Regions from separate parts of the Homo sapiens genome. Here all the other regions are linked to region 3. The links are contacts of gene promoters, found by promoter capture Hi-C in blood cells and fetal thymus (Javierre and others, 2016). All regions are on one chromosome and are shown on one strand. The core of a region is centred on a gene start or on the middle of the fragment in contact, and the rest is flanking DNA. Distances in the headings are between cores, read along the strand shown. Region 1 holds the start of CFAP107 (cilia and flagella associated protein 107). Region 2 holds the start of PRAMEF12 (PRAME family member 12). Region 3 holds the start of PDPN (podoplanin).

Region 1 (3,429 bases), core at 5-2,504, 840 kb before region 3:
GGCGTGGTGGCAGGCGCCTGTAGTCCCAGCTACTTGGGAGGATGAGGCAGGAGAATGGCGTGAACCTGGGAGGCAGAGCTTGCAGTGAGCCGAGATCATCCCACTGCACTCCAGCCTGGGCGACGGAGCGAGACTCTGTCTCAAAAAAAAAAAAAAATTAAATTATACCGAACGCATGCCTCCTCTGCATGTTAATTGGAAGGACACCTCCTCTTCCTAGCTCCAGCCCTGCCCCAACTGTGGTCTCTGCTAAATAAAGGTTTATTCTAACCTGCAGAACATCTTTCATGGTCATTTCCTGCCTCAGGCTTAGTTTCAAGATGGAACACATAGTTTCCTGGAGTTCCTCTATTTTTGTTTGAAGGCCATTGGAAACTTTCTCTGAATTGCCTAGCGAAATCCAGCCTCTTCACTTTTAGCAAGCAATACTATAGCACACAGAGTTTTGTTTAGTTAACCACATGTTATAGGCATCTTTTAAAGTCAGCCTTTAAAACTCTTGCAGAGGATTTCATCATCTGGATGTATTACAGTTTATTGAACAAGCCCTCTGCTGATGGATATCTTGGTGCTTTTTGACTTTTTTTTTTTCCTAATGAATGAGCAAGACAAAGGCCCTTATCTCATTGGACTGAGCTCTGTGGGGATGGTGCCCAGGTCTAATTGCTAATGCATTGCAGCTGTAGCTAAGCACCTGGCATAGAATGGGAAATGATTGTGGAATGAATGAATGAAGACTGAGCAAATGAAGCATATTATACCAGTGTGAGCACAAAGACAGAATTCTTTGTGCAAGCCCCTACAAAGTAGCAGATAGGAAATGAATGGAGCCCACTGGTTTAGGTCTGAACCAGCGTGGATTTAAATCCCATCACAACTGCATGATGTTAGGCAGCTACTTAATCTCTTTGCTTCAGTGTCCTCATCTGTAAAATGGGTATAATAATGGCATCTGCGTCAGAGGGCTGCTGTGAGGATTAAACAGGTGAATAAATGTGCATAAATGTCTTTGCTTGGAGCAAGCACATCAACATTCATTAAATAGTAGCAGACTTTAACTCACCCCAAATGTGAAAGTGTAGCAAGGATGATACTAGTATTGTGGTGAGAACACAGAAACCAGGTTCTTCTGGCGACTGCTTTTGTGGTGTGGTGGTTGGTTTGATTTGTTTCTGTGAGGTCAATTTTGCTTCTGCAGAATCAGCTGTTCTCTTACAGAGAGTATTTATACTCAGAGTCTGTCACCATGGAGACAGTCAACAGTAGAGAATCCAAGATAGATCAACTCTCCCTAAAGGCTGACAGTGAACTCTTGGGGCCGTTTTATTCTCTGAGGTTAGCAAGGAGTCATCTACTAGCCATTCAGGAGGCCAGCTGGGAAGACAAAATAGGCACCCCAAACTCAGCAACTTCATAACACCTTCCTCTCCCCGCCTGAAGCCTTAAACTGCATCAAGTCAAAGAAACCTGGGGCAAATCCTTAACATGTTTTTGACTGCAGTAAATCCACAGCCACTCTCTACTCCGAGCTGGCAGATTGAGACCAAGTATTCAACGAAAGTGCTCACTGGAAATTGGATGGAAGAGAGGAGAAAGGTAAGGAAACGAGAGAGGTTGGAGAGAGGGCTCAGAGGGACTGATGGGGAGAGGCAGGAGTGAAGTTCATCACTATTTTCAAATGGAGGGCAGCAGATGATTGCATCTTAAAAATGTGGCATTGGGGTCTCTGTGCTCTACAAAGGATAGTTACATTCAAGCAATCATCAATATTCACGCATTTTGCATGGTTTCTATGACTGTTTCATACATGATGGTTATCGAAAAGACCACTGACACTCTCTTACAGATATAACAGGGGCATTGAAAATACTGTAACAGGGTGTCAATATAGTCGTGCCTCTCAGCACTCTTCTCAGTGAAGTGTTTCTAGGCATCTGGATGTTTTCTGTCCTTAATTCCTTTGTACCTTAATTTGAAGAACATTTGCTCTCCTCATTCTGGCCCTTCCCAGAATATGGTATCTCCTGAGGCCAGCTTGCCACTCTCTGTGCTGATGTCCAGGGATTTGCTGCTGCTCTCTGGCACCTTTCCACAATCCTGCCCTACTAATGCATTTCAATTTTTACTTTTTTTTTTTTTTGAGACAGAGTCTCGCTCTGTTGCCCAGGCTAGAGTGCAGTGGCATGATCTCGGTTCACTGCAACCTTCACCTCCCAGGCTCAAGCGATTCTCTTGCCTCAGCCTCCCAAGTAGCTGGGACTACAAGTGCATGCCACCATGCCCAGCTAATTTTTTGTATTTTTAGTAGAGATGGGGCTTCACCATGTTGGCCAGGCTGGTCTTGAACTCCTGAGCTCAAGTGATGTGCCGACCTTGGCTTCCCCAAGTGCTGGGGTTACAGGCATGAGCCACTGTGCCTGGCCTCAATTTTTGCTTTCAAACAGAACAATTTGGCTCTTGGTTTTCCACTGTGTTTTAAAGGTCTTTGGAAAATACTTTGCCTGAGTTGGCAAAGTTTCAAGTTGGCATACTTGAAATTGAATATCTTCATTTGTGTTTGGCAAGACTGAGCCACTTAAAGCTTTTCAGAGACATCTAGACTTCCCCATGTCTTCTTGGGAAGTGGGCAAGGAAAAGAAGGTGAAATAGAATACTCAGCTTTGGTATGGGGAAAAGAAGGGAAGGTTAAAGGCTGTTTTCCTGGAGAACATTAGTAATCACCACCTCTCTGGCCAGATACAACCTTCAGTCATCATCAGCTACAAATGTACTTGGCCTTGTTTGGTGAGCAGGTGTGTGCAAGAGAAGTTCCAAAAGCAAGAAGGACTGGTTGAAAATACCTTCAGGTGCCCATGGGTGATGCAGTACTCAGGGATATTATGGGATGGTCTCACACCTAGAGAAGATTGCATAAAAATAGTGGAGTTGGAGTGATGTCAACAAGGTAGCAGACTAAGAAGCTCCAGGTTCTCATTCCCCATGGAAACATTAAAGAAAAAAGCACAAAAACGTTATAGGAGCTCTGGAAAACAGTCAAAGATATATAGCGACAAATCAAATGCCCAATCAAGAAAAAGACACATTCAAAATGAATAGGAAATTCCATGATGTTTTTACTTGTCCTCTCCTACTACCACCCCAGCACAGCACAGCATAGTCTGCATTTTAGGGTAAGTGGCAGCTCGGCTCCAAGTTCCCTCTTTCAAATCCAGAGTGAGTGGAGCAACATTTGAACCTGTCTGGGGCTGCCTGAGGGATTGCTCTCTATTTCGTCTAACTTGGAGCTCAGATGGGAAAAGGTGGCATGGTTCAGATCTCAGCTGGGAAAAGCCATGGAAAGCAATGATAGGCACAGCTAGTGAAAGCTGCCAGGGGATTACAGATCTATAAATATCTGGGGCAAGAGATTATGGATAGAGGAATACAATA
Region 2 (3,567 bases), core at 145-2,644, 810 kb before region 3:
AGGTAGATTTTTTTTTTTTTACAGAGACAGTGTTTCACCATGTTACCCAGGCAGGTCTCAAACTCCTGGACTCCAGTGACCACCGTGCCTGGCCTGAGTTTTCTTCATATGCCTAATGTTGTTGTTCTGATCAGAATCTCTATGTTCAATATTAGGGACAAGAGAGGACTTTAAGGATGAGAAAACATTAATGATCAAAATATACCTGGAAAGGGGCCGATGGGATTGATGAGGATGAAGGGCCCTGGGAAATGCCTGGACCTGAGGGTTGCTGGGAAATGTTCCACTGTGGGAAGATCCCTGAGTCTAAAGGAAAGATTTCCAGACCATAGCGCCATGACAGGGAGACACGGACCCTTGTGCATTTCTCCCCCATGTCCTGCAGAGCCCACAGCTTCCACCCTCTGTGGCTTCCAGCTTGGGGGAGTCTCCCTTCTTAGGCCTGGCCACTGTGCTTCTGTCTGGCCTCTGTCCCAGCTCACATTCTCAGATTCAATCTCCCGAAGCTGGTTTTCTGAGGGGTGCCCATCATTTTTGTGAGTAAACACGCTTTACCTTCTAGAGGTGACCAAGACTGTATCTCGTCCCATGCCCTCAAAGGCAATATTGTGTTTTGAGTCTACAGTGTCTCTTTTGTAATTATTTCCTTTTCAGTTTTTGAATTCAATCTAAATGGAGTCTTTCAATCCTTCCGTCTCCTCTCCCACAAAATACCCACCATGTTTTATGCTGTCTTGGTTCCTTCCCAGGGTCCCATTAGAACACCCGGTCCCATCCTGCCCAGCCCCCACCTCACTTTGTAATTTTGGTTTAATTTCCTCCGGAGAAGCCTGAACCTTCGTCTTGAGATCAATCACACCCTCAGTGGTTCCCCTCTGCCACCTGAATGGGCATATGATCTACCATGTTAGAAAGCGTAAATCCCAGCTGACCACTGGATACGCAGAGATATTTATTCTGCTTTCTTAGGGATGAAATTACTGTCTTCTTAGAGCTGTTTTAGCTCTGAGACATTTTGATAATGTTTATGTGGCCAAAGATCCCCCAGCAAAGATACCTTCAGGTTTTGTTTTTTCTGTCAAATGCCAGAAACAGATTCAACCCTTTCCTGCATCACTATGAAGCTCTCATGTCAGTCAAACTCCATCAGTGTTTGTGGAATAAAGGAATGAATGAGTTGTGGACTTTCACCCTATTATTTATATCTTTCACTTTCATAAACGTATATCTGATCCAATCAATTAATCAGAAGAAAGTCGCAAACTCAATCAGGATTAACTGGGTGGAACTTCAGAATCTAATCAGACATCATTTTCTGATTGGAAGTTGGTTGTTGAGATGGGGAGGGTGTGGTTAGAAAGGTCCATAAAAGCTCCCGAAGGTGCACAGGAGAGAATCCAAGGCGCTGACACCTGGAGCTACTGCTCGGTTCTCTGAGAGGTTGCAGCACCCTGCAAACTGAGTCCAGATCTGGTAAGTCACCACCTCCTTAGGGTCATGCCCATCTGATCTGCAGCCAGCCAGCCAGTCAGGGATGGTGACATGCAGCCCAAGGTGGCAGAGAGAATTTTCTTGTCTGTTTTCAGAAGAACAAATTTAGGCTTTGATTTTTCCTCTAAATGTAGTTTTGTCTTCATCCCCCAAAATTGGATTTGTGCTTGGTTTTTGTCATTTCAAAATTCTTATTGAAGCAGTTTTTTTTTTAACAAGAGATATTAAAAAGTTACAACTGGTTGAATTTTTATTTCGTGACATTTGAAATAATTGGTTTTTGTGCCCTTAAATTATAGTTCATAGACTTGGTGGCATCGTGATTTTACATGTTAGGCCTTAGTTTTTACTAATACCTTAAAGATATTCCATAGGCCATTCTCAAGAGTGGAGTCTTTGTTCTGAACATGGGACCCATTTTTTTCCCCTAGATTCCATCCCAAAGTGGGTCATTGTGAGTCTGTGTAAGAGATCAACATTGGAACCTTCATCTGAGAGTTAGTGTTTTTATCCCTAACTTTCACAGGCTCTAGAACACTGTCATGCTGTTTTTACAATTTCTTGTTACAATTTTTCAAAATAAAAAATAATGGCGCTGATTCCAAGGAGTCCCTTTAGTCTTCTGCAAGCATGTCAATTGTGGGAACTGAGAATGTAGGCTGTGTGGGGCCACAGGACATTCTCGTTCCCATTGTTTTAGGGTGGTAAGTGACAAGAAATATTTTCTCAAAAAGGTGGAGCTTAGCTTTCAGGATCCTCAGCAACGCTTCCCAGTGTTACTGAGATTTAGTGCAGCAATGGTTGAAAATGAATGGGCCAGTGGTTACCTTGCCCTCTCCTCATTGTTTGGAAGACATTCTTTATGGTACCAGCAAGGGCAGAATTACAGATTTGTGTCCAGAAAGTGCAGAGTGGAATTGGGGTGAACTAATTACCTTTCCACCTCTACCAGAGCAATGACATTGGCACTAGGAGATGATGAAGTGATGTGATTTGCCGTAAGAATGATGTTTTTTTCTCTAGATTCATCAGGATGAGCCTCCAGGCCCCACCTAGACTCCTGGAGCTGGCTGAGCAGAGTCTGCTGAGAGACCGGGCCTTGGCCATCCCCACCCTGGAGGAGCTGCCCAGGGAGCTCTTTCCCCCACTGTTCATGGAGGCCTTTACCAGGAGATGCTGCGAGACCCTGACAACTATGGTGCAGGCCTGGCCCTTCACCTGCCTTCCTCTAGGGTCCCTGATGAAGTCATGTAATCTAGAGATCTTTCGAGCTGTGCTGGAGGGGCTTGATGCACTGCTTGCCCAGAAGGTTCGCCCCAGGTGAGGTGACCCAGCTAACCAGGTGGGGAGGGCTCAGGCATCCAGGGTAGGGTTAGCTGGGTCAGAAGGAGTGGGAGGCCCAAGGGTGGCCCAGAGACTTCTGATGGGGCTGGGGAGGAAGCTCAGAGAGGCCTTGGCCATTGTCCAGCTCCTCTGGGAAAGGACTGCTCACCATGCAGGGTCCACTGAAGGATCAGGAACCTGCCTCCTGCCAGTGGCAATTGAAGACACTAGCAGTGGGGACCAGGCAGGTTTCAAGGAGAAAGAGGGATGGAGAAAAGACAGAGAGTGGGAGAAGCAGCAGGGAGGAGAGTCGCTGATGTCCGGGATGTGGATAAAAGCTCAAATCCTTCCTAAATTTGGAGCCTCTCTTCTCTTTTACCCACAGGCGGTGGAAACTTCAAGTGTTGGACTTGCGGAATGTGGATGAGAACTTCTGGGGCATATGGTCTGGAGCTTCTGCACTCTCCCCAGAGGCCCTGAGTAAGAGACGAACAGCAGGGAACTGTCCAAGGCCGGGTGGGCAGCAGCCCTTGATGGTGATCCTAGACCTTTGCTTCAAGAATGGGACGCTGGATGAATGCCTCACCCACTTCTTAGAGTGGGGCAAGCAGAGAAAAGGCTTACTGCACGTGTGTTGCAAGGAGCTGCAGATTTTTGGAATAGCCATCCACAGGATCATAGAGGTCCTGAACACGGTGGAGCTAGACTGTATCCAGGAGGTGGAAGTGTGCTGCCCGTGGGAGCTGTCCATTC
Region 3 (3,432 bases), core at 483-2,982:
GTGGGATAGAAGGCAGGTGTCCTTGAATCATGACCTAGCCTCAGCATCCCTCTAAATTAGTTGCATGTAACCCAATCTCCCCCACCTAGGCTTCACTGTGTTTCAATCTTTTTGAATAAAGCGGGCCATCTTTCTTTCTGTGTGTGACCTTGGAGTTACACATAAGCAGAATAGATGTGCATCTATTCTCCATCTAACAGGCTCAACAGACAATGCACTATTCCTCCTGTCAACAGACATTATTGACACTAGAGTCATAAAATGCATCTCCAAGATGGGGAAGTCAGTTCAAGAAAGAGTATCTGTATCACGAGTTTTCTCTTTACATTTCCAACTCCTTGGCTCTAGGGGTGTTGCCGCTACCCCTCATCTTCTAGGTTCAGGTGCTCAGCTCCTGTTTGTAGCCCCAGGACAAGACGTTACCTGGGAGATCTTTAGAAATGCAGAATCTCTCCCTATCCCACAACAGAATTGCACCTGCATAACCAGTGCCCCAGGTAGATCTGGCTGAGAAGCTATGATGAAGGGCAAGGTTTGCCAAATGTTCATGGGGACAAGTTCTCCAGCGACACTGGTTTAAAATAGGAATTCCGAAAAGGTCTGATTAATGAGTTTGGGGTGGAACCCAGGAAACTGGGCATTTATTTAAAACAATCTCTCCTGTGATTCTTAGAAAGTAAATTTATAATGGGGAGGGGTCAAAGATAAGCATCTGAAAACAATTTTCACGCAATGTGGAGCTTTGAGACAGCGTTAGTCTTCAGGTTCTTTTGTTGAATGGAATTTGTGGCATCTGGGAGTGGAGCAGAGACCACTTCCCAAACTCCTGTTCTTATTTTTTTAAATTCCAGCAATTCAGAAGGAATTAAAGTAAAAGACGTAAGTTCTCTGGTTGCTGATATCTGGTACCTGAGATCAAGGCAAGATCGCTTAAACCAGTAAAGTGAGGATTATGGGAGCAAACTCAGGAATAAAGAGGGTGAACCAGGCCTGGAAGGGGACACAGGTTTGGCGACCAGACGGGTCACCGCTTGGCCCGGCCTAATCCAACTGCGCACGTCGGTGGGCCACAGCATCGCAGCGCTGGATCCCCGGGTCGGCAGAGGCGGATGGAGTTCAGCCTCTTTTTCAAAACTGCCAAAGCCACCCGGTCTGCCAAACTCCCCCACCAGCCAGCTCTGGGGCAGCCCCCCGGAGCCCGCCCGCTCCGGTCCCCGGGACAAGGGCGCAATTGACCAGCGCGGGCCGCCTCTGGCCCACCCAGATGACGGCCAACTTTTTTTGTTTTTAAGCCATCAAATTCAATATTTACAGGAAAAACCCCATGCTTGGTTCTAAAACTACTGGCCACTCAAGAAACAGTTTACTTCTCACTTCTGCCCATAACAAGAAAAACATAGACTTGTGCCTTACTCTTAAAAAAATAATAATAATAAATATAGGTTTTTTAAAATTTATATATAATTTTTAAAACCCCGTTTGTTGCATGTGGTCCCTTTCCCTCCTGTTGTTGAGCAGAATAAAAGCCCATTTTGCCAGGGCCCGCAGTCCTGGCGGCCCCCGCAGCTGCGGCCCTGTAACTTTAAACCTGGCCTGAGATCATCGTTTTGGCGCCGGCCAAACAGAGCCCGAGGGCGGGCCTAGCGCGCCCGGACGGAGACCACCTTGCGGCCGACCCCGCTCCCCCGCCTCCTCGGGAGAGATAAATGCTGACTCCGCTCGGAAAGTTCTCAACTGCAAAGTTTGCTGTCCGGCTGCCTAGGGTCTGGGAAGCTCGGGCACCCTCCCTCTCCGGGGCTCCTGCTCCCACCCCTCCGGCCCCCCCACCGTCGCGCTCCTCCAGGCTGGGCCTGTGGCCGCGGTGCTTTTTAATTTTCCCCCAGCTCAGAATCTTGCTGCTCGGCCCCCAGGAGAGCAACAACTCAACGGGAACGATGTGGAAGGTGTCAGCTCTGCTCTTCGTTTTGGGAAGCGCGTCGCTCTGGGTCCTGGCAGAAGGAGGTAAGACCCAGCGCAAGTGGCTTCCTGCCGTCGCTGATGGGGACGAGCGAGCAGAGACTTGCTGGAATGCCCGGGCCTGGTATTCGAGGTTGTCCAGGGGAGCGCGGGGGAGCTGAGGGTGTGTGCGTGTCAGGCGGCTGAGCGCCGGAGGAGGAGAGGCAGCGGCTTAGTCGGTGCCAGGTCCCAAAGACGCAGCTGCGCGGGTGTGCCGGGAGGAGCCCCGGAATCCACAGGCTGCGAGGTGGGCAGCACAGGGGGCCTCCCTCCGAGTCGGCAGCACCAGAGAGATCGGGTGGAAGGTTCACAGTAGGCAGCCCCGCTTGCTGGCAGCAGTGGCTGGGGTTTCCTTCCCATAGAGCGGTGTGTTGGAGGAATACGCACGCCTCGGGAGAAGCTGGCCTCGTAGAATCAGGAGGGACGTTCAGGAGGGCTTGGGCCAAGGGGAGGGTTCCCCGCCCTGCGGTGGCCCTGGTCCCCCTTGGGACTACCTAGTCTGGCGCCCTGCCTGTTGGACACACTCAGCACCCCGTCACTGGACTGGAAGAGGCCTCCTTTATCCTCTTTAGAGAGGATAGTGTGTGTGGAAAGGATCCAAGTGGAGGCTTCCGAGGAGTGTGAGTGCATGAGGATTGTTACGCGTTACGAACATTGAGGTTTAAGTGGGTTTGAGCCACGTGTTCATCTTGGGCAACAACATCAGTGGCTGAATGTCTGTTGGTGACTCCTTAGGCTTTAAATATTTTGTATCCCATGTTGGGGTGGGGGCGTCCACAGCTTCCATTACCCTTTGTCCTCTCCTGGAGCCTTACCTCTTCCCGCTGGGTTGCTGTGTTGGTGGTCTCCATTGACATCTGTCAACATTTTGTTTTCTTTTCTTGGGTTTTTATTTTTATATTTCCTCAATAGAACATATGTTCTGCAGGACGCAGCTACATCCAGCCATGATTCCCCACGGCCAAAACAATGCCTGGCACATAGTAGTTGCTCACTAAATGTTGGTTGAAGGAATTGTAACCTAACTCGTGATCTTTGGGGCTGGAGGTTGCTGAGTTATGCTGTGAAAAGTAAACATTTTCCAAAAATTGAGGATCAAGGTAGGCCTAGGCCCTGAGGAATACTTCTTGGAGAGGGAGCGGTTTGCAGGAGGGGTGCGCCTAACCTGGCCTCCTACAATGGTCCACACAGACAAAAATACCCAATCTCAGGGAAATGACAGAGTTCTGCTCTATGCTGTGCTGTCTGCTTCAAAGGGACTGAGCAACTCTTTTTATAGGGGCCGTGGGTTATTCGTAGCAGTCCTATCTTTGGAACTTCTCTTTCCACTGGAATATATACAGTTCTGTATTTTCAGTTACATTTCCTTTTTGGCGAGACAATGTGCAAATGACACCGTTTTGTGCTCACCAGGGCAAAGCAAGGGAGCGCCCTCAC

The links. The method cuts DNA at HindIII sites, captures the fragments that hold promoters and counts their contacts. A CHiCAGO score of 5 or more calls a contact.
Region 1: the fragment with the promoter of CFAP107 here is called in contact with the fragment with the promoter of PDPN in region 3 in 2 of 17 cell types (erythroblasts and megakaryocytes); the score reaches 6.5 in erythroblasts.
Region 2: a contact is called between the fragment with the promoter of PRAMEF12 here and the fragment with the promoter of PDPN in region 3, in 4 of 17 cell types (endothelial precursors, M2 macrophages, M1 macrophages and 1 more). The highest score is 7.8, in endothelial precursors.

Annotation. Positions count from the first base shown.
Region 1 is chr1:12,744,946-12,748,374 of GRCh38, forward strand. It overlaps CFAP107 (cilia and flagella associated protein 107), which reads left to right and starts at 1,255. Exons shown (of 4, transcript NM_152290.4): 1 at 1,255-1,596. The coding sequence starts at 1,486. The HindIII fragment of the contact is 5,629 bases long and covers 1-2,579 here.
Region 2 is chr1:12,772,344-12,775,910 of GRCh38, forward strand. PRAMEF12 (PRAME family member 12) reads left to right here and starts at 1,395. Exons shown (of 3, transcript NM_001080830.5): 1 at 1,395-2,811; 2 at 3,200-3,567. The coding sequence starts at 2,525. The HindIII fragment of the contact is 4,010 bases long and covers 1-3,567 here.
Region 3 is chr1:13,582,100-13,585,531 of GRCh38, forward strand. PDPN (podoplanin) reads left to right here and starts at 1,733. Exons shown (of 6, transcript NM_006474.5): 1 at 1,733-2,001. The coding sequence starts at 1,935. RefSeq lists an enhancer at 1,636-2,174. The HindIII fragment of the contact is 6,524 bases long and covers 1-3,432 here.